7 separate regions of the Homo sapiens genome follow, and regions 1, 2, 4, 5, 6 and 7 are each linked to region 3. The links are contacts of gene promoters, found by promoter capture Hi-C in blood cells and fetal thymus (Javierre and others, 2016). All regions are on one chromosome and are shown on one strand. The core of a region is centred on a gene start or on the middle of the fragment in contact, and the rest is flanking DNA. Distances in the headings are between cores, read along the strand shown.

Region 1 (4,026 bases), core at 699-3,198, 290 kb after region 3:
ACAGCATGAGACCTGGGACAGGCTCCAAGTGGCTCCTCATCCCTAAAATGGGATATCCTCATTTTGCATGGCTGTGGTAAAGACGACGTTTAGTCCAAAGTCTGACACACAATAGGTGCTCAATAGTGAGCAGCAGGAGTGGTGATGGTAGTAACAAAATGTACAGTTATAAAGCTTTTCTTGACCTCCTCAACCAGATAAAGTCTGTTCCTTTTCTGAACCCCCTTCTCTATGATTTAGGTAACTACAGTTGTGCCTCACTTGGCAGGGATATGTTCTGAAAAATCCATTGTTAGGCAATTTTGTCATTGTGCAAACATCTTAAGAGTGTACTTACACAAACCTAAATGGTATAGCCTATGTAATATATATATATATATACACACACCTAGGCTATAGAGTATATATACCTAGGCTATAGAGTATATATACCTAGGCTATAGGGTATATATACCTAGGCTATAGAGTATATATACCTAGGCTATAGAGTGTATATACCTAGGCTATAGAGTATATATACCTAGGCTATAGAGTATAGCCTGCCGCTCCTAGGCAACGAACCTGCACAGGATGTTACTGTACTGAATGCTGTAGGCAAGTGCAACATAATGGTAAGTATTTGTGCAACTAAATATAAAGAAGAAAAAAGGTACAATAAAAATATAGTCTTGGCCAGGTGTGGTGGCTCACGCCTGTAATCCCAGCACTTTGGGAGGCTGAGTCGGGCGGATCACGAGGTCAGGAGATTGAGACCATCCTGGCTAACATGATGAAACCCCGTCTCTAGTAAAAAAAATACAAAAAATTGGCCTGGCATGGTGGCGGGTGCCTGTAGTCCCAGCTATGTGGGAGGCTGACGCAGGAGAATGGCCTGAACCCGGGAGGCGGAGCTTGCAGTGAGTGGAGATGCGCCACTGTACTCCAGCCTGGGCAACAGAGCGAGACTCCATCTCAAAAAAAAAATAAATAAATATAGTCCTGGCCGGGCATGGTGGCTCATACCTGTAATCCCATTCACTTTGGGAGGCTGAGGCAGAAGGATCACCTGGGGTCAGGAGTTTGAGACCAGCCAACATGGTGAAACCCCGCCTCTACTAAAAATACAAAAATCAGCCAGGCGTGGTGGCGCACACCTTTAATCGCAGCTACTTGGGAGGCTGAGGTAGGAGGATCCCTTGAACCAGGGAGGCGGAGGCTGCAGTGAGCCGAGATCATATCATTGCACTCCAGCCTGGGCAACAAGAGCAAAACTCCATCTCAAAAAACAAAAAATAAAAATAAATAAATAAATAAAAATATGGTCTTATAATCTTATGGGACCACTGTTATATATGGGGCCTGTCATTGACGAAAATGTCATTTTGTAACTTTCTGCCAACAGGAAATGCTCACTTGATACTATTATACATTCCCCATTCTCTTCTCACCCACTACTTAAAAACATTTTTTTCTCATGTGTTTATGTAATCATTTACCCAATACATATTCATTAAGCAACTCTTCCAGTTAGGGCTCCTTCTAAGGCTGATTTGGTTAATCATGCTGTTCAACTTTTTAAAATGTGTATTATTTTTTTCCGCTTATTCATTGGGTTACTAAGAAGGTTGTGTTAACATTCTTCAAGTATGAGTCTGGGTGTCTTGGCTGACACCTGTAATCCCAGCACTTTGGGAGGCTGAGGCGGGAGGATTGCTTGGGCCTGGGAGGTTGAGGCTGTAGTGAGACAGGGTCTTGCTCTGTCACCCCAGGCTGTAGTGCTGTGGTGTGATCTCGGCTCACTGTAACCTCCACCTCCCGAGTTCATGCGATTCTTGTGCGTCAGCCTCCTGAGTAGCTGGTACTACAGGCTGTGTCACCACACGCAGCTAATTTTTGTATTTTTAGTAGAGACGGGGTTTCACCATGTTGGTCAGGCTGGTCTCAAACTCCTGGCCTCAAGTGATCCGCCTGTCTCAGCTTCCCAAAGTGCTGGGATTATGGGCGTGAGCCACCGCACCCAGCCTGATTGTATATTCTTTTTGCTTCTGCTAATTTATGCCTCATAAAATTTAAAGTTATGTTATTACTTTTGGAGAGATTATGTATTGTTGCTTAATAGATTATTTTATTATTATAAAATATCCCACTTTTCCTCTAGTAAAACTTCTTCCCTTGAAGTCTTTAGTCTGATACTAATACTGGTTGAACATCCCTAATTTGACAATCCAAAATCTGAAATGCTCCAAAATCTAAAACTTTTTGAGCACTTACAAGATGATTAAAGGTTAAGTTCTAAGGAAATGCTCACTAAAGCCATTTCAGATTTGGGACTTTTGGATTAGGGAAGCTCAACCAGTAAGTATAATGCAAATATTCCAAAGTAAAAAAAAAAAAAATCTGAAACACTTCTGGTCCCACTTTGGATAATGAGTACTCAACCTTATAGCCACAATAGTTTTCTGCTTTTAAGTGTTTGGATGATTACTTTTCCTCATCCTTTTAAACTTAAAATAAGTGTGTCTTTACTGTAAGCATGTCTCTTTTAATCTAGCATGCCATTCCATGTATTTAATGGAGTGTTTAGTCCACTTACATTTAACTGATATTTTGTTTACACCTACCTTTCTCTTTATCATCTGAGCTCTGTTCTTTTTCATTAATCAAGTATTTCTACTGTACCACTTTACATTTAGTAGCTACTTTTTAAACAAACTGTGGTAAAAAAAATTAACAAAATTCCCCAACTTACCCATTTTTATGTGTACAGTTCAGTGTTGAGTATATTCACACTGTTATGTAATCCATTGCCTTTTATTATCCTTAAAAACAGCATCTCTCATCTCCAAGCATGTTTTAACATGCTTCCCACCCCATGCTCAGAAACTACCACTGTGCTCTTTTGTACAGATAATTCTTTCTTTTTTTTTTTGAGACAGAGTTTCGCTCTTGTTGCCCAGGCTGGAATGCAATGGTACGGTCTCGGCTCACTGCAACCTCCGCCTCCCGGGTTCAAGAGATCCTCCTGCCTCAGCTCCCACTGCTCCATTCTGCTAGCAGAAGTAAGTACCAGCTCTAAATGTGAAGCGTGCCCTCACACTGGTTTGTGCTGCCAGCTCAGCTAGGTGTCCTGAGAGCACAGCAGTGTTGCAGCCCAACTGAGGAGAATCAAAATTTGTGTTTCTCAACAGGAACATGTGGATCCTGTTTTCTCTGTTTCTAAATAAGTAACTTAAGCCAGTTACTTAACCTCTCTGAACCTTAATTTCTTTACTCATAAAAATGAAAACAGCAACACATGAACATAAACAGGGCTGTTGTAAAATCAAAACAGATAATATACCTAGAAGGCTTTTATTTTTTTGAGACAGAGTCTTGCTCTGTCACCCAGGCTGGAGTGCAGTGGCGCGATCTCGGCTCATTGCAAGCTCCGCCTCCTCAGTTCATGCCATTCTCCTGCCTCAGCCTCCCGAGTAGCTGGGACTACAGGCGCCGGCCACCACGCCCGGCTAATTTTCTGTATTTTTTTTTTTGTAGAGACGGGGTTTCACCGTGTTGGCTAGGATGTTTTTGATCTTCTGACCTCGTGATCCGCCCGCCTCGGCCTCCCAAAGTGTCGGGATTACAGGCGTGAGCCAGCGTGCCCGGCCCCTAGAAGCCTTTTTTTTGTTTTTTTTTTTTTTACTATGAAGCACTATAAAAAACATAAGGTGTTCATTATTGTTTGCCCCATAATTCAAGCTTTCACTGAGGGCAAAGTGACTTTTTTTAACGATACATACAGGCGAATTCACAGCAGTCTAAATCATTGACAAGTATTTGTAAATTACTGCGCTAGGAAGCAAGTTTACACGAAAAATACCTCTACAAGATCCTTTCTTGGCCTCAACTTCAAAAGGGGTTCGCTGAGACGGATGGAACACATTCCACCCTTCCCTTCATAGCTGCATATCCCAGCACACCTAGAAAACAATCACCATAAAAATGTGTTACATTGGCCAAATATGCCCAAGTCCTTACACATTCTTGGGCAGTTCACACTAACTCAGT
Region 2 (4,276 bases), core at 1,183-3,682, 410 kb after region 3:
TCTGTTGGAGGTGGCTCACCCCATTTTCCCCTACCTGCCCCCTGAAGACACATGGAAAATCCTGGGCTTGGGTATCAAGATAAAGGCTGGCAGCTTTGTCACATACAGGCTTTCTATGGAACAAAGCAGCCGGAGCGCCACAGTCCCTCTACAGATCCATGCATGACAAACCACTGGCATAACCTGGTGGTTCTCAACTTGTGGAGGCCCCCAGGAGATACCTAGCAATGTCGACAGATACTTTTGGTTGTCACACCTAACTTGGGGGTTGCTACTGGCAGATGATGGGTAGAGACCAGGGATGTTGCTAAACATCCTACGGCATACAGAACCTATCGCAAAATGTCAGTAGAGGTTGAGAAACCCTGGCGCCACCCCACGGGCTGTGCAGCAGTGTTCTTTAGCATTCACATGTTGACTCCCCCTAAGGATTGACCCTCCCTCACTACCTCAAAGCCAGCAGGTGGCCATGGGACCAGCAGCAGCCTCCTTGACACTGAACCACCTGCCCACCGGTGCCGAAACCCGCCTTCCCAGGGGGACCAAGCCTTTCGCTTGCAATGAGAATTAAGGCTTAAATGCAAATATCCCTGGAAGAAATACACAAAGATCCTGCATTCTGATCCTTTCCTGAGAGTGCTGTGGTGGGGCGGAGGGCAGGGGCACCAAGAGGGAGAGAAAGGGCGCAAAGAGGAGGGTGGGCCTGCCCCCAGCTCTCTTGGTGAGCTCCACAGAGCCTGCCCAGGCTCAATCCGGAAAGCACCACCCTCCTCAAACTTGGTGGGCCATAGGGCACCTAGGGCGCTGTTGCAACTACAAAGTACATATCAGGCTGAAGATGCAGCCTGGAAATATATACAGTTTTATAGTGTTTAGGTCAGTTACCTTGTGGGTCAGTATTACTGGTGTCCTCTTTAATTGGAATCATTATTTTCCCAAGGAGAACAGAGAGAGGAAAAGCAGGCTTTGGGGAAATACCTTCCCCTGCTTTGAATTAGGAGCTGGGATGCTATGTATGCAGTGAGGTGCTAGTGGATATTTTCGGAAGAGATTAATTTTAAAAGGAAAAGGCATACACTTTGACCAAGCTTGCTCACTAGCAAAGAACAACTGCAGAACCACATTACAGAGGCACTATTTACAATGCAATGGAACTCGACATTTTTAAACTACTTTGAATTCCTTTTTCACTGAAACTGCTTGATAGATTTACACCAAGTTACTCCTCAGCCAGCCCAACAAAAGCCTCATCTTGATATCATTTATATGTATGTACAAATGTGCCACCATGATGTAACGTGTTATGGAATTCGATGGTGGATGAGAATTCCATGACCTGTCTGTCATTTCTACTCTGAAACCCGGGACCTTCCTGGCCATGAGGAATTGATAAGTTCCTTCTTCACTTTTCTGATCCCTCAAAAACACAAGTGTGTGGCACGGACCTGTCGTTCTCTTTGAAGTCAGAACATTGAAGGTGTTTTGTGCTGAAGACAGGAGAGGTGTCTGTGAAGGAGAGCTGGATGCTGTCCCTGGCATCGGCCGTATTGCTTCTGGGCTCCTGGAGGAGTCAGAAAAGGGAGAATCCCAGCCCCCAAGCTCAGGGTGGCAGTGGGGAGGAGGGAGTCCTGGCTGCACCTCTCTGGACTTCAGGGAACTTTTTTCTGAAAGAGGCCACCGGATTTGAGGGCATTACCCTCCTGCACTTTCCACTTCTCTCCTGACCTGGATGCTGCTCCCTCAAAGGGGTTAGGTTCAGGGTAGCCCCAGGCAACTTGTGCTCCAATGATGGGCGATTCTTCTGCAGAGCTGGGGCCACCTGGTGACCTGGGCTGTGGTGATGGTGGAGGCTCCACAGCCTTCCCCAGGGCTCCCCTGTGAGAAGCTGCTGTCACCAGGCAGCCCTGCCTAGCCCACTCTCATTCTGGGGGCAGGGTGTAGGCCTGTTTTTTTTTCAGAAGAGAGCTAGACACTTCCCAAAGCTGATGGCTTCCTTGGCCCCAGGAAAGTGGTGGCTCCTCTTCATCCTCAATCTTTAGGGATCGTCTCCATGCTCCAAGCAAAGGCCACCCAGAGCTATGGCTAAGGATGAAGCTGCAGGGATATGGGAGACAGAGGCAGAGGTGCGGGCAAGGACACAGGGTCCCAGGTCTTGTGTGTCACCACCAAGAGCTCTGGACAGGGCTCTGGGATGGGAGGAGGAGACCCAGAAACCGCTTGGTGAGATGACAAGGAAGAGGCAAGACCTAGACTTCCATGAAGCAGATAGCTCCCAGGCTCCGCAGCAGAGACTGCAACACAGCACCGAGCAGCTCCTGGAGACGGGGCAGCTGGCCTTGCCGGCCACATCTGCAGAGACAGCGGACCAAGCAGCCTTGCAGACCAAGAGCATGAGCTTTGAGGTAGGATTGTCGGGCCTGCTGAGTGGAGGGGGGGTACCTGCATGGCTCCGGCAGGCAGTTACTCAGAAAGCAGGCGCGGTGTCTGAACAGGAAGGCAGAACCAAGGACGCACAGTTGGTGCTGGTGAATGGGCGAATTTTATAAAAATCCAGTCCAGCAAATTGACAAGTCACTTCTCAGCCTCAGAAATAAAATGCTTGACAAAATATATTCTTTTTAAAAGGAGAGAGAAATGTTACTACCAGGTGGAGCTGGAGGTGGCAGGTGACTGGGAAGATGAGAGGAGGGAGGAGAGGAAGGGTTCCCTGGGAACAAGAGCCTGGCAGGCTCAAAACCCCTGCCATGAGCTGTCTCTGAGAGGTGTGGATGAATCAATGTGGATCTCAAGGGAGAAGCCTGGTGTTTCCAGAGTCCTGCCCTGGCAGGTCAGACTCGGCACACCCAGTCTCACAGTGGGAAGCTGGGAGACAAGGTACCTGATACTGCCCTTCTATTTCCTGCCTTCCCCAGAGATCCCGCCCACTGCATCAGGGCAGAGCCGTCCCGGCCTGCCACAGGGGCCACTTGTGTTCATGATGCTTTCATAATGACAATAGGGTGGACTGACTAGAACAGGCTTTCCCAGGGTCTCCCATTTTAAATGCTTATGAGTCTGAGAGTGGTTCAGCTCAGAAGAGCAATCTGGATGCATTTTCAGTTAACTTCTTGGGCTGCCAGTTTCAGAAAGGAGCCATCACCAGGCGAAGACCTATGACATAGTTGTTAAAATTCTTGTGTTTTCACGTGGATTTAAGAACTAAGAACTGAGTGAATTAATTTTAGGAGACTGTCATGCCTGTGTGTGTGTGAGAGAGAGAGAGAAGGAGGGAGGGAAAGAGAGCGAAAGAGGGAAGAAAGAGGCAGGGATGGAGGAAAGTAAGAGAGAAGGAGGAAAGGAAGAAAGAGAGAGCAAAGGAGGGAAGGAAGGAGAGAGAGAAGAAGAGAGAAAGAGAAGGAGGGAGGGAGAAGAAATGAAGGATGGAGGAAGAGAGAGAGAGAACACAATTGGCTGATTAATAAAGGAAGCCATTTTAAAAGGTTCTAACACTTCAGTGAGAGAGGCAAAAGTCAAGCATGAATGATTAATGTCCCTTTCTATCAATCCTGCATTGGGTCTGCAAGTGGCAGGTGCTACTAAAGACTCTAGGACCAAGAAGCTAAAAGATAACTTTCTCAGCATGATGAGAATCTGCAATCTCGGGACTCTGAGGAGGCAAGGTCCCCACGGAGGGCCAACACCCGGGGCGTGGGATTACAGCGCAGCTCCTGACTGCCGCTCTCAGGAGGCCAGTCTCAAAGTCTACCTTCCTCTCCCTCCAAAAAAAGACAAGCTTTGAAAACAGATGGCAGGAAACATAGACATGAAGCCCGAATGCTGACTCCCTTGAGAAAGGTCCTTCTTGGGGAGTGTTCGTAATGTCTGGGTGGAATAAGGGTGACACACGTACCTTCCTTTGCCACTGACAGTGGCAGCTGTGAGCATGGCCCGTGGACCCATTCCCTGCGTCCCCAAGAAAATGTGTTTCTATGACACTCCACGCTGCCAGGTTGCACCCATGATTTGCATATCCTGCTTTTGTGGGTTATTTGAGCTTAGTGAGAATGGTGGGCGTTTTGCCTGTGAATGTCACTGTCACAGGCACAGTGCCGAGCTGGAGCGGGGCTAATTGCCTGACAGCTTTGGCCGCCCCAGGTTAGTCGGCACTTCCAATCCTGTGTGCAGGGTGACCTGGAAAAGAAGACAGGGCAAGTGAGGGTGGGAGAGGCTGCCGCAGGGACCCTGAGGGCTCTGACAGCACCGCAGACACCGGCAGGATCCCCTGCTGGCTCCAGGG
Region 3 (3,827 bases), core at 244-2,743:
AAAACAGGCTCAAAGTCAAAGAGCCCGAAAAGCGGGTATCTTGTCCACGGTTCTTTTTGCTCTGTGGCACAGAACTGAACCTCAGAGGACTTCATGTACCATGCCGAGCACAGGAGAACTACATGTGTTTTTAAATGCCCTACTATTCCTGCATTAATCAAATCAAACTGGTATTCTCACATTACTCCCAATTATTTAGATTTTGCCTAGGAAAAATAGCAACTAAGGTTTTTTGAGAGTGCACTGGGTATTTCAGGCATTGGGCGAGGTGCTTCACTTCCACCATCACAGTTAAACCGCATAACAACCCTATGAAGCAGGTACTGTCATAGTCTCCTGCATGTCCAGGATTGACATGCAGGCAGACTGTCTCCAAACCCCAGTTCCTATGGTCCTAGTGCTGTCCAATTCAAATTTGTCCAGTTGATGATAACACTTTGCAAATTGATTTCCCATACAACAAACCTAACGACACATGGAGGCCAGGCTATGAGTGTTCTCCTTTACATTTCAGGAGACTGAGGCTCTGAGAGGTTAAGCGACTGACCCAGCCCTGTCCTCACCCAGCAAGAACACAAGGCAGCACTCCCTAACTCCAAATCTCACTGTCTTTGGAAAACCTCACATTTTAAGAGTGAGAAGGTAGAAGTCCTGTCATTGTTGAAAAACAACCATCCACAATCATCACTAAGAGTTGACAGCGAGACCCGCGCTCCAGGCGGTGGAAACCGAGCAGTCTCCGGCTTGGGCCATCCCCGTTACTGTAGCCAAGTAGGAAGTGGGCGGTGACACTGATTTCAGAGCAGCCCCTAGGGAAGGCACAGGCACCAGTTCCTGGTCCCGCTCCCAGCCTCCTCCCTCCAGGTCCCCGAAGGGGTGGAACCCGAGATCCAGCTGGGTCTTGGGGTTAAGGCGGGCGGGACGTCCCCTGTCCCGAGGGGGCGCAGGCTGGGGCGCACCGCAACGAGAGTGCAGGCGGCGCAGGTGTCCCAGGACGGGGACGGATCCAAACCCCAAGCACGCCTCTGCAACCTTTCCCGGTCACCTGGACACGCAGCGGGGGCGCGGGTCAGACTCCTACAGTTTCGCAAACTGCGGGTCCCGGGGATCGCTGCACAGTCCTGGGTCAGGGACCTGGCCCGGCTCGGCGCTGGTGCCGGGCTGGCAGCCCAAGACTCGCTCTTCTCTCAACCTCGCACGCCTCGCGTCCTGCCTCAGTTTCCCTCACCTCGAAAGGGGTTGTTAACAGAGGCACGCCCTGACCTACGCGACTTCCTGGGGGCCAGAGCGCGCCCTCCTTGCCAGGACCCCCCCAGGACGTGCTAGGACTCTGTGGCAGCTCCCCTACCTGCGCGGTGGCTCACGCCGCCGCCGCCGGCGGCGGCTGGGGCGCCCTGAGGACCCCCGCCTGGCATGCGCCCCGCTGCCAGCTCCTCCCGCTCCGCCTGGGCTGCCTCCTGCTCCTTCCCCGAGGCCAGAGGCGGGGGGAAGGGAGCAGCGCGCTGGACGGGAAGTGGGGAGGGGGCTGGCGACGAAGGGGGCGGCTCCTTTCTTCTCCTCAGCGAGTCCGCTGTTTCCTTTCCAGCATTGGCCCCTGACGCGCGCGCGCGCGCGCACACACACACACACAGACATACACACACACGCTGCTGGAGCGGGCGGGGCCAGCGGCCCTCACAGCCTGTCTCCGGGATCTCAGGACCTCAGAAAGTTTGCTTTCACTCTGACTCATTTCTGGAAGAAACAAGAGGGGAAGTGCAGGAAGCCTCCAGGATGGGGTACAGGAGGGCGCCTTCCAGACGCATGATTTAAGAAGTGACCACACAGTGATGGAGAAGATGGAGGGATGTGAGGGGCTCATTTATACAAAGTGGGGGCGGGGGGGAGGAGTGGGGATAACTGATGACCCTGGAAAGAGATGAGTGGGAGCAGATGTTTAGAAATGAGATAGGATTCCAACTTCTAGCATCTTCCAGCAGCTCCGGGCTGGTTCCAGGACACAGAAGTCCATGCAAGCTCCTAGGCAACTGACTCCCCCCTTCACCCCTTCTCTTTGGTTCATTCAAGGAAGCTACTGGAGCACCCCCTAGGTAGCACCTGCTATAGGACAATGGGTACAAGGAAGGGCTACACATGAGCTCTTTGCCCTTAAGCAGCTCACCTCCAGGCTAGAAGGAGAGCACGTGCATAGAAAACGAAATCACAACATGAGATAGAATGTGCCATGTGCCAGAGGCTTGGCACAAAACCTCTTGCAATGGTTCAGGGATAGGAGGGAGAACTGTGAAGAAGAAGGGTTGGGGAGACGTTCTGCAGGAATGGGAAGGATCTCCTTAGAACGAGAGGAGTTAGAACTAGAGGAAGGCTGAGGTCCTTCAAAAGCTGAAGATCTTAAGACTGAAAGCACACAGTTGTACTTAAAATCAGTGTGTTTGCCCGGCATGGTAGTGCACTCCTGTAGTCCCAGCTACTCGGCAGGCTTAGGTGGGAGGATTGCTTGAGTCCAGGAGTTCAAGGCTTCAGTGAGCTATGATGGGGCCACTGCACTCCAGCCCAGGTGACAGAGAGAGACCCCCCACACCCCCACCACATCTCTAAAAATAAATAAATGTATGAATATCTAAGGCCAGGCACTTTGGGAGGCCAAGGTGGAAGTTCACTTGAGTCCAGAAGTTTGAGATCAGCCTGGGCAACATAATAAGAACCTCTTTTTTTTTTTTAACTTTTAAGTTCAGTTTGTTACATAGGTAAACTTGTGTCATGGGTGTTTGTTGTACAGAGTATTTTGTCACCCAGGTATTAAGCCTAGTGCTCATTAGTTGTTTTTCTTGATCCTCGCCCTTCTCCTACCCTCCGCCCTCCAAAAGGCACCAGTGTGTGCTGTTCCCCTCTATGCGTCCATGTGTTCTCATCATTTATCTCCCACTTATAAGTGAGAACATGCAGTGTTTGGTTTTCTGTTCTTGTGTTAGTTTGCTAAGAATAATGGCCTCCAGCTCCATCCATGTCCCTGCAAAAGACATGATCTCATTCTTTTTTATGGCTGCATAGTATTCTATGGTATATATGTACCATATTTTTTTATCCAGCCTATCATTGATGGGCATTTAGATTGATTCCATATATTTGCCGTTGTGAATAGTGCTGCAGTGAACATGTGTGTGCATGTGTCTTTATAATAGAATTATTTATATTCCTTTGGGTGTATACCCAGTCATACGATTGTTGGGTCAAACAATATTTCTGTCTTTGGGTCTTTGAGGAATCACCACACTGTCTTCCACAATAGCTGAACTAATTTACACTCCCACCAACAGTGTAAAAGTGTTCCTTTTTCTCCACAACTTCTCCAGCATCTGTTATTTTTTGACTTTTTAGTAATACCCATTCTGACCGGTGTTAGGTGGTATTTCATTGTGGTTTTGATTTGCATTTATCTGATAATCAGTGATGTTGAGCTTTTTTTATATGAATGTTGTCCACATATATGTCTTCTTTTGAAAAGTGTCTGTTCATGTCCCTTGCTCACTTTTTAATGGGGTTGTTTGGTTTTTTCTTGTAAATATAAGTTCCTTATAAGATGCTGGATATTAGATCTTTGTTAGATCACAGTTTGCAAAATTGTTTTCCCATTCTGTAGGTTGTCTGTTTACTCTGTTGATAGTTTCTTTTGCTGTTCAGAAGCTCTTTAGTTTAATTAGATCCCAGTTGTCAATTTTTGCTTTTGGCATCTTTGTCGTGAAATCTTTGCCCATGCCTATGTCCTGAATGGTATTGCCTAGGTTGTCTTGCAGGGATTTTATAGTTTTGGGTTTTACAATTAAGTC
Region 4 (3,871 bases), core at 732-3,231, 320 kb after region 3:
CAACTGGAAGGTTTTGAAGGTAAGATCAGTTGGGTACTACTGGTTGGTTAAGACACGATCTTAACACCAGTGGGGTATGGACAGGTGGGTAAGGCAGGTGCATAAGGCCAGGGAATTCATACTGAATGCAAAAGGCCAGGAGGTTTATAAGGCAGGTGGTTAAATATAAGTTGGCAAAACCATAAGGTTAAGACTGGGTCAGGAAGCCAAGTGATTGAAAAGCCTGGGTGGGTAATGCCAGTAAGTTAAGGCCTCCCTAAATATGGGTAGGTAGATAGCTCCACCTGGGTAATAGTAAGAGGTTAAAGCTAGGCAGGTTAGTTCAGGAGGTTAAAGCCATGTGAGTTAGAACAAAAGGTTAAGGCCAGGTGGGAATGCCAGGTTAGTAAGCTATATCGGTCATCTAGGTGGGTAAGGCCATAAAGTTAAGGCCAGGTGGGTAAGTCCAGGTGGCTAATGGGGGGTGTCTAAGTCTGGGGGATGGGGTGAGGGAGCAGTGGTAAATCTGGGGAATAAGGGCAAGGGGGGATAAGTCCAGGGAAGTAAACCTAGGGAGGTAAATCCAGTGGTTTAAGTCCTGGTAGATAAAACCAGAAGGCTAAGGACAGTTGTGTAAACCAAGTGTGAAGGCCATGTGGGTCATGTATGGTTGTTGAGACTAGATGGGAAAGCTGGGTGGCTAATCCAGGTTGTTAGGGCCATGAGGTTAAGGCCCATAGGTTTAGGCCAGGTGAGAAAGGCTAATGGAGCATGGCCAGGGCTGTAAAACAAGGTGGGCAAGGACAGGGAGTAACGGCAGTGGAGTAAGGCCTCATGGGCAAGATCACGTGGGTCTTGACCAGAGATCAAGGCCAGCAAATTGAAGCTAGATGGGTAAGAACAGGTGGATAATGGCGAGCGGGAAGTTCTGGCCAGGTGTGTAGGGGCAGAACTTTTAGGCCATGAAATTAAGACTCGGTGAGTATGGCCAGGAGGTTAATAAAGCCAGATAGATAATGCCAGGTTTGTAATAGCATGAGGATAAGATGAGTGATGAAGCCAAAGAGCTTAATAAGTTCTGCTGAGTGCAGTCAGGTTGTTAAAACCAGGTGTTTAAGCCAGGCGTGGTGGCTCACACCTATAATCGCAGCACTTCGGGAGGCCGAGGCAGGTGGATCACCTGAGGTCGGGAGTTTGAGACCAGCCTGACCAACATGAAGAAACCCCATCTCTACTAAAGATACAAAATTAGCCAGGCATGATGGCACATGCGTAAATCCCAGCTACTTGGGAGGCTGATGCAGGAGAATCGTTTGAACCCGGGAGGCGGAGGTTGTGGGGAGGCAGAGGTTGTGGTGAGCCGAGATTGCCCCATTGCACTCCAGCCTGGGCAACAAGAGCGAAACTCCATCTCAAAACAAAAAACAACAAAAAACAAAAAAACACAAGTGTTTAAATCCCGCTGAATAAAAGACCCACGCTCGGAAATCAACGGAAGAAACACCCTGTAGGATTAAGGGCAAGTCGCCAAATCAGACAAATGATGACCCAAGGCTAATGCTAGGTAGGTAAGACAGTGTGGGGAAAGTGAGGAGGTGAAGACCAGCTGAATAAAACCAGTTGGTCAATACTAGAAGGGTATAAGGCCAGCAGATTAACCCATGCTGGCTGAGGCCAAGCAGGTGAAGAGGGCAGATGAGTATGGCCCTAAGCTTAATAAGGTCAGGTGGGGAAGGCCTAGTGGGTAAGGCCAGGTAAATAAGGCCATGTGGGAATGCCACCAGGTGAAGGCCAGGAAAGGAAAGCCAAGGTTTGGGACAGAGGATATGACACCAGGTTAAGACCAGTAGGGCTGGGGCAATTGAGGAAGGAAGAATCGAACATTGAGACTAATTGTTAAGGCAAATTAATGGGTAAGGTAAGGCTTAGGTAAGTGGGTAAGGCTGAGGAGGTAAGATCAGTTGGGTGATTCAGATTGGTAAGGACAGGACATTAATGCCAGTAGGGTAAGGTCAGGTGAGTATGCTAGGTACATAAGGCCAGGAGATTCATACTGGATGAGTAAGGCCAGGAGGTTCATAAGGGAGGTGGGTAAATCTCAGTTAGCAAAACCATGAGGTTAAGATGGTTAGGAAGCTAAACAATTGAAAAGGCTGGGTGGCTAAAGCCAGTAAGTTAAGGCCTCCCTGAATAGAGCTAGGTGGCTAACTCCACCTGGATAATGCTAAGAGGTTAAAGCTAGGCAGATTAGGCCAGGAGGTTAAGGCCATGAGAGTAAAAACAAAAGCTTAAAACAAGGCAGGAAGGCCAGGTTGGTAAGCTATGTTGGTCATCCAGGTTGGTAAGGCCATGAAATTAAGGCCAGGTGGGTAATGCAAGGTGTCAAAATGTGGGGATGAGGTCATGCAGTTGGGGGTAAATCTAGGGAGTAAAAGCAGGGGGATAAGACCAGGAAAGTAAACCTAGGGAGGTAAATCCAGGGGGTTAAGTCCTGGTAGGTAAAACCAGAAGGCTAAGGACAGTTGTGTTAACCAAGTGTGGAGCCCATGTGGGTCATGTATGGTTGGTAAGACGAGGTGGGAAAACTACGTGGCTAATCCAAGTTTTTAGGGCCATGAGGTTAAGGCCCATAGGGTTAGGCCAGGTGGGGAAGGCTAATGGGATCTGACCAGGGATGTAAAATGTGGTGGATAAAGCCAGGGAGTAAGTTAGGCAGCTGAGTATGGCCTCATGGGCAAGATCAGGCGGGATGGGTCTTGACCAGAGATTGAGGCCAGGAAATTAAATCCAGGTGGGTAAGAACAGGTGAATAATGGTGAGCGGGAAGTTATGGCCAAGCGGGTAAGGGAAGGACTTTTTGGCCAGGAAATTAAGACTTGGTGAGTATGGCCAGGAGGTTAATAAAGACAGATAATGCCAGGTTTGTAATACCACGAGGATAAGATAAAATGATGAAGCCAAGGAGCTTAATAAGTTCTGCCGAGTGCAGTCAGGTTGTTAAAACCAGGTGTTTAAAACCAGCCAAATAAAAAGACTTTTCTCAGGCCGGGAAATCGATGGGGGAAACACCCAGTAGGATTAAGGGCAATTCTCCTAGCCAGACAAACGATGACCCAAGGCTAATGCTAGTTGTGTAAGACAGTGTGGGAAGGCGAGGAGGTGAAGGCCAACTGAATAAAACCAGGTAGTCAACACCAGAAGGGTATGAGGCCAACAGATTAAGTCATGATGGCTGAGGCCAAGTGGGTGAAGAGAGCAGGTGAGTATGGCCCTAAAGTTAATAAGGTCAGGTGGGGAAGGCCTAGTGGGTAAGGCCAGATAAATAAGGCCACATGGGAAGGTCAATAGGTGAGGTCCGGGAAAGTAAGGTCATGGGTCAGGACTAGGCATAATGCCACCAGGTTAAGGCCAGTAGGGCTGTGAGATGTGAGCAAGACCAGAAGTTGGGACTAATTGTGAAGGCCAAATGGGTAAGGCTGGGTAGATAAAATCAGTTGGGTGATTCGGGTTGGTAAGGACATGAAGTTAAGGCCAGTAGGGTAAGGCCAGGTGGGTAAACCAGGTGCATAAGGCCAGCAGATTAATGCTGAATGAGTAAGGTCAGGAGGTTAATAATGCAGGTGGGTAAATTTATTTTGGCAAAACCATGATGTTAACACTGGGTCAGGAAGCCAAGCGATTGAAAAAGCCAGATGGGTAAAGCCAGTAAAATTAAGGCCATCAAGTACAGCTAGGTGGATAACTCCAACTGGGTAAGGCTGAGAAGTTAATGCTAGGCAGATTAGGCTAGGAGGTTGAGGCCATGTGACTAAGAATGAAAGGCTAAGACCAGGTGAGAAGGCCAGGTTGGTAAGCTATTGAGGCCATGAGGTTAAGGCCAGATGGGGAAGTC
Region 5 (4,181 bases), core at 383-2,882, 260 kb after region 3:
ACTTAGGAGAATTTGCAGGAGAAAGTGATAGTTTATTGTTTTTTCCTCGCCCATATTCAGTTTTGTTCTACTTCCTCCCCTTCCTTCCAGATGATAACATCACATCTCTACAGTAAGTGCCTCTGCCAGCCCAACCCAGGAGCGCAAGTTGTCTTTGCCATCTGGTCTATAGTACAGTGCGCGGCGTTAGGCCACAACTCAAAAGCATTATCTTTTTTAGGGTTAGTAGAAATTGTTTTATGTTGATGGGAGGTTTGTTTGATTGTCAAAATGTACAGCCACAGCCTTTTAATTTGGGAGCCCCTGTTGTCATTCAAATGTGTACCTCTACAGTTGTAAAAAGTATTAGATTCTACTATCTGTGGGTTGTGCTTGCCAGACAGGTCTTAAATTGTATATTTTTTGGAAAAGTTTATATACTCTCTTAGGAATCATTGTGAAAAGATCAAGAAATCAGGATGGCCATTTATTTAATATCCATTCATTTCATGTTAGTGGGACTATTAACTTGTCACCAAGCAGGACTCTATTTCAAACAAAATTTAAAACTGTTTGTGGCCTATATGTGTTTAATCCTGGTTAAAGATAAAGCTTCATAATGCTGTTTTTATTCAACACATTAACCAGCTGTAAAACACAGACCTTTATCAAGAGTAGGCAAAGATTTTCAGGATTCATATACAGATAGACTATAAAGTCATGTAATTTGAAAAGCAGTGTTTCATTATGAAAGAGCTCTCAAGTTGCTTGTAAAGCTAATCTAATTAAAAAGATGTATAAATGTTGTTGAAACATTATGGTGGTTATTTCCAGCTGTCTTTTTTGTTTTTCAATCCTTTATCATACATTGGCTTTCCGAATGATCCCTTTCATCAGATAAAGCTTTTCTGGCTTAGTCTAGGACATTTGTTATAACTTTTTGTAAATGATAATGAAGGAAAGAGAACAGTAAACATAGGAGTTCAACAATTTTAGAAACATCCCTGGGGTCATTGGACTGTCTGTGGGATCCATGAAGTCTGTTTGGATTCTCAGCACTTGAATTCTTGCCCTTTTAGTAGGATTTTTAAAATTATTTTAACATTCATAGCTGTTGACAGATCTGTATCACCCCTCTGCTGCAAAAGGAAGTGGGGTTAGGCATTTATCTCTAATTGTCATAGATGTACCATTGTGTATATGCAAGAAGGTTTAATTTGTGTGGTCATAACTAAAATATGAGAGCTCTTATTAAGGTGAGATCAAAATACCTGTTTATATATCTGTTATTTAAAGAAAAATTTTCCACAGTGTTTTGTTATTTTCCAGCGTTTCTTAGAACATTTGGGAATTACACTAAAATATAGCTGGGTGGATTGAAGTAAAGGGCAAATGAGTTTGAGATGAAGTTTGAGATGTGCTTTTTTATATACAAAAAGCACATCTTCCACCTTAAACAGTTGTATGAGACCTAAATGAAATACAGTGTGCAAAGTACCTTACAATGCATGGAACAAAGTAGGCCTTCAACGAGGATTATTGCCCTTTCCTTTAACAATATGATAGCATAATTGCAGAGAGAGAAAATTGGGGCAATGAGCTTTGAATAGCTAACGGTTTTATCAGTTGTAAATGTGAATCATTTGGAAGCAGGAGTGTTGTCTTATTAATGACAGGTCTTATTTTATAGCTTAGATTTAAATTAAGTCACTGGTGCAAGGCACTTCATCAGATTATTTTCCCAAAGTGCAAAAGTGCATGTGATCCAAGAAAGAGAGCTGTATTTGGGTATGAACTGCAATGATACATATTTATGTCATATCTAATAACATAATTGTATGTTGGATTTTTTCAATTAGTTTATAAATATTCAGAAGTAACTAGTCTCCATTGCTTCAAAAGATAATTGTTTAGACTTCTCAGGTCATGAATTTATCCCTCAGATTATGTTTTTGGTTTGAATTTTATCTGAACCATGGCGATGCTCAAGTATGTACCATGGGACCAATGGGACCAATGAGATGTGTGAAGGGCATGGCCTCATGAGCTGGAAATAGTTTCATAAGTAGAACACACTAAATGTCAGCCACTTCACAAGATGGGGAGAGCCTAAACAGCTGCAAGTAGCTAAAGCTCTTTTTATTGAATAATTACTAAACAGTTGTCAAAAATTATTGATAATTTTTGCTCTGAACAAGATGTCATTGGGGTCAGAAAGTTACTAGATAGGGCCTTCATTGAGATTAGGATGTTTTCTGCCAAAATTATTCCAAATGTCTTCTACAAAATACCTTTACATTTTTTTTCCCTAGTACATGCAAAGTGTAGGCAAAGCAAATTTTGTCTCCATTTGTAATTAAAACAGGATCAGAGAAGTGACTTGCTCACAGTCACAAAGCTTGTAAGTGGTAGAGAGCCAGGAATTGAGTGTGAGCTTTCCTTGTTTAGTTTTGTTCGAGTGGCTAAATCAACTTGTCTGTGGTTGTTAAGAAAAACAGTAGTCCCAGCTGGTCACGGTGCTCAGCCTGTAATCCCAGCACTTTGGGAGGCCAAGGCGGGCAGATCACTTGAGGCAGGAGTTCGAGACCAGCCTGGCCAACATGGTGAAACACAGTCTCTACCAAAAATACAAAAATTAGCTGGGTGTGGTGACACACACCTGTAGTCCCAGCTACTCAGGAGGCTGAGGCAGGAGAATCACTTGAACCTGGGAGGCAGAGGTTGCGGTGAGTCTTTGCCATTGCACTCCAGCCTGGGCAACAGAATGAGACTCTGTCTCAAAAAAAAAAAAAAAAAAAAAGTATTGCCTTTAAAAATTCTTAATTAAAAAAAAAAAAGTAGTCCCTCACATTCTTCCCCTGAGAAAACAAGTGTCAACTGTTTTAAATGATTCTTTGGATATCTCCCCACCCATTAGTTTAAATAATATAATTGGATTGCTGCCTCTTGATTTTTTTCAGTGTTAGGCATTTTCTCCTAACTTCTCCACACGGCAGATCTCTCTCCAAGGTTCCTCCACCATCTCTACCACACATAGGCAAGCAGACATCCATCTCCCCTGGTCTTCCTTCTGTTCCTATGCTGTAACCGAGATCAGGTTCGTGTTCCTGTTATGGCTGTGCTAGTCAAAGCTGAGACATACAGGAAATCATGTTGACTTGACTTTTCTTCCACAACTTACTTTTTCCCTTAATGTCTTGATTTTTCGTTTGTTCCCTGTGGCTTCTAACTTGCACCAATCTGGACTGGTTGCTCTTAACGCCTGGGGCACAGCTGTCTTTCTTGGGTCTCCCTTCACCTGTGTTCTAGAGATTTCCTTCACCACTCTTCGGTCAGCTCTCCTGTTTCCTGGATCCCATGTCTTCATCTTTCTTGGTTTACTGAATGGAGCATGCCCTCTAATACTTCCTGTAGAAATGTATGGATGGTAAATTTTCTGAGACCAATATCTTTGTTTTACCACCACATTTCATTGGTAACTTTGGAAATCATGTTCCAGAATTTTGAAAGCATTGCCTCACTGGTTCTAGGTTCCAGTGTGTAGATACTGAGAAATCTGAAGCCATTCTTATTTCTGATTCTTTATATGTAATCTTTTTCTTTGTGGAAGCTCATAGAATATTCTTATCCCCAGGGCGCCATAGTTTTATAGTGTGCTTTAATGTGTGCCACTTGTCAACCTCTGTGCTAGGAATGCAGACTGTAAAATCACCCCACCATTTTGGGACATTTAAATTTTCTCCATCCATTCTCTGTTCTCTCTTTCTGGCACTCCTTTGTCCAGGCAGGACCTCTACTGGTTTGAACCTATTTTCTTCTCTAGTTACTGTGTATCTGTCTTGACTGGGGACATCTGTTTTCCCATTCTTCTGGTGAGTATATGGTGTCTGTTGTCAGGTTCCTAAATTTCAGGAGCTCTTTTTTGTTCTCGAATTTAAGAAAATATATGTAATAATCTCTTAATTGATACAGTATTTAACTTTTTTCTGTTTCAATTTTTTTTCTTTCATGCTAGAAGTTTTCCTTAAATGTCTGGTACCTCTTGCTTGTGTGTTTACATTTAAGAGGAAGGTACTTGAGTTTCTGGTTTTCCAAGGAATATTGGCTGCTTCCTAAATCTAAAGCTCTATCGTAGTCTTCCAAAAACCATAAAGACAAAAGACAGCAGTCACCATAATCTGTGCCTGCAGCATATCTATGAG
Region 6 (3,943 bases), core at 388-2,887, 300 kb after region 3:
CAAGTGCCCAGTAGCCACCTGTGGCTAGTGACTACCATACTGCACAGCACAGATTTAGAACATTGCCATCGCCAAAAAACATTTCACTGGATGGCTTACCTAGGTTGCGAAGGAAGATGGGACCTCAAAGAGGCGGAAAGTGAAGTTTGCAAGGTGCAGAACTGTAATCATGAAAAATGTTGAATGTTTTACCTTTGCCTCAAGAGTACTGTTCCACCGCTGTCATTTTCTCTCCTTTTAAAAGAATCATTTCTCACTTCATGGTTTATTTTCTTTTTACCTACAGTTTCATTCACTTTTTTATTGTTCCAGTGTTTCATTCTCTTATTCTCTTCTTTCTCTTGCTGTTTCTTTTTTCATTTAATATGATTTATTGATTAGCAAGAGAATTTTGCTTCTGGTTATGGTGGCCTAGGCATTTCTGACCAATCCTTCCCTGAGAACAATTAGAACTACTTTACACATTATATATGCAAAGAATATATCTGAAGGCTGCAGTAGAATAAAAAATATATCTGGTCTTTTTTCTTGGTTTCTGGCATAGAACTTCAAAAAACCTTGGCATTTCCTGAATGATGTTTTTGTTATGCTAATAAGGTGACTCCTATTTGGGCCCCTAGATATCTTCAGGATTGGGGCTGGTCACCAGAAAATTGACCATATAATCATGGAAGTGGAATGTTAATTTCCTGCCCCGCTTCCCCCCACCACCACAGAAGAGATGGAGAAACTGTAGGTTGAATTTTATCACTTGCCTAATGATTTAATCAAGCATGCCAATGTAATGAAACCTCAATAAGAACTGTACATCGAGGATTGGGTCGCTTCCTGGTTGGTGAACATATTGATGTACTGGGAGGATGGCACACCTGGACTCCACAGGGACAGTCTCCTGTTTCCCCCACCCCCTCCAGATCTTACCCTATGCATGCTCCACTTGATTGTTCCTGAGTTGTATCTTTTACAATAAAAGCTGTAGCTATAAATATAGCACTTTCCTGTGTTCTTTGAGTCATTCTAGGAAATTATCAAACCTTGGAGAGGGAGAGGGAGTGTCATGGGAAGCCCCAAATTTATACCCTGATGGGCAAAAGTGTACGTGGCTTTGGGACACCCCAGGACTTGTGACCTGCATCTGAAGTGGGGGCAGTCTTATGGGATTGAAACCCTTAACCTGTGGGGTCTTGTTCCCCATGGCAAATCCATATGAGTCTGCAGCAACCTCAATTCTTGCCTCCTCAGACAAAAAGAAGTTGACTGCGGGACATAAGGCAGGAGGAGAGACTGAGGCCAGTTTTAGAGCAGGAGTGAACGTTTATTAAAATGCTTTAGAGCAGGAAGGGAAGTAAAGTATGCTTGGAAAAGGGCCAAAGACACGACTTGAGAGATCAAGAGCACCGTCTGACCTTTTGACTTGGGGTTTTATTCATTGGCATGCTTCCTGGGTCTTGCGTCCCTTCTCCCGATTGTTCCCTTGGAGTGGGCTGCCTGCATGTGCAGTGGCCTCTAGCACTGGGGAGGTGAGCATGCGCAGTGTGTTCACTGGGGCTGTATACATGCTCCCTTGAGGCATTCTTCCCTTACCAGTGGGATGCCCCTAGAAGGTCATATACCAGTTAAACTCTGCCATTTTTCCTTTTCGGGTGCATGCTTGAGCCAACCTGCCCTACCCCTGAGATCTTATCGGGAAGCTGCTGATCAGTTTCAGGTGTTTGTGTCTAGTGGTAGACACCTGTTCCCTGGGGCCAACTGCAACCAATTATTATTTTAGAGAGACATCAAGGGAATTTGGGATTGCTAGTGCCTCTGGTGGTCTACCTCACCACTGCACTCCAACCTGGGTGACAAAATGAGATGTTGTCTTTAAAAATAAAATTAAATTTAAAAAAGAAAATAATAAAAACAAAAACATATAAGTCAGGAGAGAAGTACATAAAATTCAAGTGATTTAAGTTCTTGCATTGCCTGTGAAGAGGTAAACTACTTATTTATACTCTAATAAGTCAAGGTTCACATTGTAATCTCTAGGGGAATTACTAACAGAATGTTTGTTTGAAACAAAGTCTCACTCCGTCACCCAGGCTGGAGTGCAGTGGCGCCATCTTGGCTCACTGCAACCTCCACCTCAGGGCTTCAAGCAATTCTCCTGCCTCAGCCTCCTGAGTAGCCGGGATTACAGGCATGCGCCACCATTCCTGGCACATTTTTGTATTTTTAGTAGAGATGGGGTTTCACCATGTTGTCCAAGTTGGTCTTGAACTCCTGACCTCAAGTGATCTGCCCACCTCAGCCTCTCAAAGTACTGGGATTACAGGCATGAACCACCACTCTAGCCAATTTTTTTTTTTAATGTTTAACTACAGATATAGCAGTGTTCATGCACCATTATTTGTAATACCCAAAAGGTAGAAACAACTTGTGTCCATTAACAGATGAATGGAGAAACAAAATGTAGTTTTGTTTCATAAAAAACATAAAAAGACATACAATAAAACATGAATAAACATTAAAAACATAATGCTAACAGAAGTAAACCAGGCCAGGTGCAGTGGCTCACGCCTGTAATCCCAGCACTTTGGGAGGCCAAGGTGGGAGGATCACTTGAGGTCAGGAGTTCTAGACCAGCCTGACCAACATAGCGAAACTCCATCTCTACTAAAAATACAAAAAAATTAGCTGGGCATGATGGTGGGCACCTGTAATCCCAGCTACTCAGGAGGGCGAGGCAGCAGAATCACTTGAACCTGGGAGGCATAGGTTGCGGTGAGCAACATTGCACTCCAGCCTGGGCAGCAGAGTGAGACTCCATCTCAAAAAAAAAAACAACAACAAAAAAAACAAAACGTAAACCAAACACAAAAGCACAAATATTGTGTGATTCCACTTATATGAAATTTCTACAATAGGCAAATCCATACAGACAGAAAGTAGATTAAAAGTTAGCAGGGGATGGCCAGGCACGGTGGCTCACACCTGTAATCCCAGCACTTTGGGAGGCCGAGGCAGGCGGATCACGAGGTCAGGAGACCGAGACCATCCTGGCTAACACGGTGAAACCACGTCTCTACTAAAAATACAAAAAAAATTAGCCGGGCGTGGTGGCGGGCACTTGTAGTCCCAGCTACTCGGGAGGCTGAGGCAGGAGAACAGCGTGAACCCGGGAGGCAGAGCTTGCAGTGAGCCGAGATCCCGTCACTGCACTCCAGCCTGGGCTACAGAGCAAGACTTCGTCTCAAAAAAAAAAAAAAAAAGTTAGCAGGGGGACGGGGGAAGTTAGCTAGATGGGAAGTTATTGTTTAATTGTTACAGAGTTTCTGTTGGGATGATGAAAAAGTTTTGAAAGTAGATAATGGTGATGGTTGTACAACACCGTGAATGTAATTAATGTCACAATTTAAAAATGCGTAAAATGGAAAATTTTATGTATATTTTACCACAATCGAAAAAAATTGGGCTGAGCACAGTGGCTCATACCTGTAATCCTAGCACTTTGGGAGGCTGGGGTGGGTGGATTGCTTGAGCTCAGGAGTTCGCGACCTGCCTGGGCAACATGGTGAAACCCCGTCTCTAATTAAAAATATATATATATTAATAGTGTAAAATAACAAAACCTGTTGATTGTATACTTTAAACAGGTTGCAGCCATTAAAAAAAGATGAAATCATGTCCTTTGCAGCAACATGGATGCAGCTGGAAGCCATTATCCTAAGCAAATTAATGCAGGAACAGAAAATCACATACTGTATGTTCTCACTTATAAGTGGCAGCTAAACACTGGGTACTCATGGACAGAAAGATGGCAGCAACAGACACTGGGGACTACTAGAGGGGGAAGGATGGGAGGAGCCAAGCACTGAAAAACTAGCTATTGGGTACTATACTTACTACCTGGGTGACAAGAGCAATCATACCCCAGACCTCAGCATCATGAAATATACCCAGG
Region 7 (4,239 bases), core at 1,740-4,239, 350 kb after region 3:
CACATACTTGACTAATTCATTTTTGTTAATTAAGGCCCTAGGGTGGCCAACATTTAAAGTAAGCTAGCTAATTTATTAAATATCTCTTTCAAATTTGTACTTGTTTGAGGCAACTTTAATTAAAGCAAGCTACAAGTAACGTAGATATGCCCTTTTCATTTTCTTTTAATATCCAGAGCTTTCAGTGTTGTCATACTTTAATTCAAAAGTCAACATAAAAGTTTAATACATATAGTAAGCTGAAAAGTGTTAGTGAAATGAGCTGAGCTTTGCTTTTCCAAACATGTTTCCAAAAGTTTATTTTAAAACACACACATAGTGTCAGATACAAACGCCTTTTAACCACTGTGGTGGGGAAGAGTAAACTGATTGCTTCCAATGATCATCTCTTCCCTCTGCGTCCACTGTTCTCAGAGTCTCAGGGAGTATGAGAGGATGTGTCTCTTCCTTTACTTCCCTGTTTGTTGTAATGAGTCCTTCGATGAGAGTAATTACGTGACCGAATTTTCCATAACTATTTGTTGATTATTAAAGTTTTGCAGTGGCTGGTTTTCCTATTGGTGTCTTACAACCTAAGATGAAAAAAGAGAAGCAGCTCATGAAATGATGCTGATTTTGCCCTTCCTCATACAGCTGTTCCTTGGGCGACTGTCCAGGGGAGAAGCTGGAGACTTGTGCAGAGCTTCACAGGCTGGCCAGTACCCATGGGGACGCCAGCCCCCTCCACAAGGGAAGCGGTAGATGCTCCAAGAGGTGACAGCATGGCCAGAGCCACAGGGCCAGGGCCAGGAGTTGAACCCCGTCATGTTTTCTGAACTCCAGTCCAGTATGTTCACGCTCACATCACATCTGCTTTCCGTGATTAAGTAATTGATTCCGTCACCCTCACAGGGCGAGGTGTTTGTGGTTGTTTTAGGTATATGCACCTCTTCAGACACGATATAAATAGAAGACTGGGATTTCGACCTACATATTTTTTTCTACAAGGTCTAGTACTTCCGCCTTCCCGATATGCAACAACTACCCCACTGCCCTTCTACCCTTTTCTTCATCCATTCTCCTTTTCCGTATGCCCCATTCTGGTCTTCCGCAAATCCCAACAGACATTTATCTAAAGCTCTTCCATGCAGGTTTGACGAGGTACTGAATTAAGATTAGGTACAAAAACAGTACTTGGAAGACGATCCACTCAAGGACATCACGCCATTCAATATAATCAGCAGATTATTTTTTCCAAATGTTAACACCCTCCTTTCTAAAATGGCCGCATCATTGCTAGGAAAAGTGTTCTTGACCCCCTCTGATTGTACCTCTGTTTATGTCAACACTCAAGGACTCTTATGTCAAGGAAGACAACACTCAAGGACTCTTTTTGGACTAGACTATTTCTTCATAGCTGATAGGCTCTAGAGAAGAGTAAGGGTTGGATTATTCTCCCAAGGATGTGCTATCAGCCCTAATTCTGAGTTCAGAAAGTCTACATGATAGAGACACTGACACTAATCTCTCACTTGGGAAAGAAGCAATGCAAGACAGACAGTGAGAGCATCAAACAAAGAGTGGAGATGAGGTACTCTCTCTGAGGCAAGGATGTGAAGGGTCTGGGCCTCTGGCTGAGACCAGTCATGTTAGGGACTGACTCTTTCTACTGTGTAAGACTGCTTCTTTTATGCCTGCTGTGTTTTGTTAATTTTCTTTGTGCTTTCTCGTTAGCTTCCTTGAGAAAATTCCAGACTGCATAAGTAATTCCCTTTTATGTTAGAACTCTACTACTTACTGATCATTTTGATAAAGTATTTGGTGCCACAGTATACTTTCTTATTTTAATTCATCAACAAAATGTGAAAACTTGTATTTTATTAAACTGCACTTACCAAGCATTTCTTCTAATTTGGTTGTGGCAGGTTCATTCACATTAAATATACAGTTATTATTTCTAGGAGAAAATAATAAGCTTTATTATTACATAAACTCTGGGGAAAAGACAACTTTTATATTTTGTTCCTGACGTAGCTATTGTAAGACTACTTTTCAATTGCCTTCCTCAAGGCTGGGCCTAAGTAGTCGAAAGGCCTCAGGCTCCTGTCCCACCTCCTGGCTTCTTGCTTCATTCTTCTGACCACATAAGAGACATGACTGCCAGAGTTTACTATTAAGCTTTATCACTGTTAAATTCAACCACTTAGAAGAACATACATCTATATGTTTATATATACATATACAGGTATGTATCTATATATGTATTATGTGTGTATTTATGTGTGTCTACACTCATATGCCCACTACACTCCCGAAAATCTTTCTTGTAATTATAAATTTCAACATTAAGTCAAAGCAAAAATATTGGCCTAAAGTTATTTCTTCCTTTCTTTGCTTCAGTTGCATTTCTATTCATAACCACATACAATTTTCAGGATAACTCACACTGACTTAACTAATTAGAGGATGGATAAGGAAAGTAGAATATAGCATTTCCTAGATCATCCATTTCTATGTCTCTCTGGATTTTGAGCTCAAATGTCATTCATTTCCTTGTTCCTTGAGCACTCATGGGATCTTGTACAGTACTTACATCTTCTTCTTCTCCACTACTCCGAGCCTCACACAGGCTGCTAAGGCGTTTTTCTGCACATCAGAAGATAATACATCATAACATTGAGAGGTACCTAAAATTGGGGGTGAGGAAGAGTTAGTTGACCAGTTTCTATTCTCAACTAAAAGAAATCAGCACCCACAGAGCAGTGACTGACCTTGATCGAGAAGCTGACTTGTGAATTTTCTGACTGCAGCCAAGTACTGTTCCTCACTGAAGTGGTCCTCTTCTTCACTCAAAAGGTACTTGCAAATTATCTGATTTTAAGAGGAAGGATGAGGGGAACAGAAAGAGAAAAAGGATAGCCAAGTTCAACAGAATAGTAAATAACTTTACATTGCCCCTCTTAAGAGAAGGATATATCACAAGAGAGCAGCATAAAGACCCTCCAAGGAATGAGCCCAGAAAAACCAAAGAATTTTTAGGGCATCTCCTTTGAGTTTACATTTTACAATTAGAAAAAGATTTAAAATAATAATGACATTTATTAAAGTATAATTTCTCACTTCAAGGGGTACAAGTTAATTACCATCAGCTTCGTATCTCTTATGCTACTTGGGAAGAGAGGGGTCAGATTTTAATAACTTTGCTTTTTTTCTCTAAATACACCTAAGAAAGTACCATGCCCTAAAATACTTGATGATTTCTACTGTAGAACAGTGATTAAGGGTAGAACTAGCATTTATCAAATGCTCAGTAAGTGCTAGACTTTGTGCAAGGAGGCTGAATGAGTTATTTCACGGACCACAAGCACCAGGAAGTGGGTCCAGGTGCCCAGAGCCAGTGCATGTATTATATGAACAGAGCCGAGTCACAGCATCCTCTTCTCTCAAGCATGTGGAAGTCCTTCCTACAGTTTATGTTTCAGACTCTTTCTCTCCCGTTGAGTCCTGCCACAATTCCTGCTGGGCAACATACCATCCCATCTCTCTAACTACTCCCAAGAGCTCTGACAAACGCTTTCAGAACTTGCACTTGAACTTTTTCTTTCCAACATAAACATCTGGTAATCTGTAACTGACTTTATGTATCACTCAAGTCTTGCCTTTACTGAGTGCCTGATATATATCAAACCTCGAGGTTACATATTGACTGACATGAAGGCCTCATTAAGACATGAGACACAGTATGACAGATGATGCGTGGGTGTAACTGTGGTCCTGTGAATACTGTGACCATGGCATCACTAAGCTGTTGTCCTCTTGGGTCTGTAATGAACCAAGCTTCCTCCTGAATGCGGGGAGCAAGGTCTCACTGGTGAGGTGAAATCACTGATCGTATTAGTCACTCTCTCTCCTTCTTCCATTTGCCTGGGGAAGATACCTGCCCTTCAGACTGGAAATAAGCACAGGGTGAGAATGTCTTATTATATTTGATATGGGGGGCATGAAGGAGAACTTGCCAAATTTACATACCTGATAGCTTTCCACAAAAGGTTTAAAGAGTCCTACTAAAAATTCTAACACAGTATTTCCTTTCTCTGTAACTAGGATGTCTTTCGTAGTCACTTGTATGGCTTCACTTTTACAAAGCAGGTAACAGCCTTCTTCAAAGTCCTAGAAGGGAAGAGGAAGCCATAATGTTCATCTAGGTTAATGGGTATAGTGCCCATCTGAATACATGTACCCCCTCATCTAGGTTAATGG

Evidence for each region. The method cuts DNA at HindIII sites, captures the fragments that hold promoters and counts their contacts. A CHiCAGO score of 5 or more calls a contact.
Region 1: a contact is called between a fragment that was not itself captured here and the fragment with the promoter of DISC1 in region 3, in 8 of 17 cell types (total CD8 T cells, naive CD4 T cells, activated CD4 T cells and 5 more). The highest score is 7.8, in total CD8 T cells.
Region 2: a fragment that was not itself captured here is called in contact with the fragment with the promoter of DISC1 in region 3 in 1 of 17 cell types (neutrophils); the score reaches 5.6 in neutrophils.
Region 4: a fragment that was not itself captured here is called in contact with the fragment with the promoter of DISC1 in region 3 in 1 of 17 cell types (activated CD4 T cells); the score reaches 5.3 in activated CD4 T cells.
Region 5: a fragment that was not itself captured here is called in contact with the fragment with the promoter of DISC1 in region 3 in 12 of 17 cell types (neutrophils, monocytes, total CD8 T cells and 9 more); the score reaches 8.8 in neutrophils.
Region 6: a fragment that was not itself captured here is called in contact with the fragment with the promoter of DISC1 in region 3 in 2 of 17 cell types (neutrophils and non-activated CD4 T cells); the score reaches 10.6 in neutrophils.
Region 7: a fragment that was not itself captured here is called in contact with the fragment with the promoter of DISC1 in region 3 in 1 of 17 cell types (activated CD4 T cells); the score reaches 5.6 in activated CD4 T cells.

What each region holds. Positions count from the first base shown.
Region 1 is chr1:231,339,681-231,343,706 of GRCh38, reverse strand. It overlaps SPRTN (SprT-like N-terminal domain), which reads right to left. Exons shown (of 5, transcript NM_032018.7): 2 at 3,839-3,938. Among named protein-coding and RNA genes, the nearest start is that of SPRTN, 3.4 kb to the right of the region's middle. RefSeq lists an enhancer at 3,928-4,026. The HindIII fragment of the contact is 3,543 bases long and covers 177-3,719 here.
Region 2 is chr1:231,215,269-231,219,544 of GRCh38, reverse strand. TRIM67 (tripartite motif containing 67) reads right to left here. Exons shown (of 10, transcript NM_001004342.5): 10 at 1-4,170. The coding sequence ends at 4,105. Among named protein-coding and RNA genes, the nearest start is that of FSAF1, 24 kb to the left of the region's middle. RefSeq lists enhancers at 1,869-2,368, 4,060-4,169, 4,083-4,276 and a silencer at 2,900-2,959. The HindIII fragment of the contact is 2,684 bases long and covers 1,091-3,774 here.
Region 3 is chr1:231,624,456-231,628,282 of GRCh38, reverse strand. DISC1 (DISC1 scaffold protein) reads right to left here and starts at 1,493. Exons shown (of 13, transcript NM_018662.3): 1 at 1,349-1,493. The coding sequence starts at 1,415. The region is part of intron 5 of TSNAX-DISC1 (TSNAX-DISC1 readthrough (NMD candidate)); the gene reads right to left. RefSeq lists silencers at 948-1,007, 1,338-1,597. The HindIII fragment of the contact is 7,020 bases long and covers 1-3,827 here.
Region 4 is chr1:231,301,577-231,305,447 of GRCh38, reverse strand. No RefSeq gene overlaps it. Among named protein-coding and RNA genes, the nearest start is that of EXOC8, 34 kb to the left of the region's middle. The HindIII fragment of the contact is 575 bases long and covers 1,694-2,268 here.
Region 5 is chr1:231,360,367-231,364,547 of GRCh38, reverse strand. It overlaps EGLN1 (egl-9 family hypoxia inducible factor 1), which reads left to right. Exons shown (of 5, transcript NM_022051.3): 5 at 1-792. It overlaps LOC107985360 (a long non-coding RNA gene), which reads right to left. Exons shown (of 2, transcript XR_001738520.3): 1 at 3,161-4,181. Among named protein-coding and RNA genes, the nearest start is that of SPRTN, 24 kb to the right of the region's middle. The HindIII fragment of the contact is 1,495 bases long and covers 885-2,379 here.
Region 6 is chr1:231,320,950-231,324,892 of GRCh38, reverse strand. No RefSeq gene overlaps it. Among named protein-coding and RNA genes, the nearest start is that of EXOC8, 15 kb to the left of the region's middle. The HindIII fragment of the contact is 9,707 bases long and covers 1-3,943 here.
Region 7 is chr1:231,273,832-231,278,070 of GRCh38, reverse strand. It overlaps GNPAT (glyceronephosphate O-acyltransferase), which reads right to left. Exons shown (of 16, transcript NM_014236.4): 12 at 4,009-4,149; 13 at 2,751-2,850; 14 at 2,573-2,666; 15 at 1,875-1,936; 16 at 98-572. The coding sequence ends at 529. Among named protein-coding and RNA genes, the nearest start is that of GNPAT, 35 kb to the right of the region's middle. The HindIII fragment of the contact is 1,659 bases long and covers 2,160-3,818 here.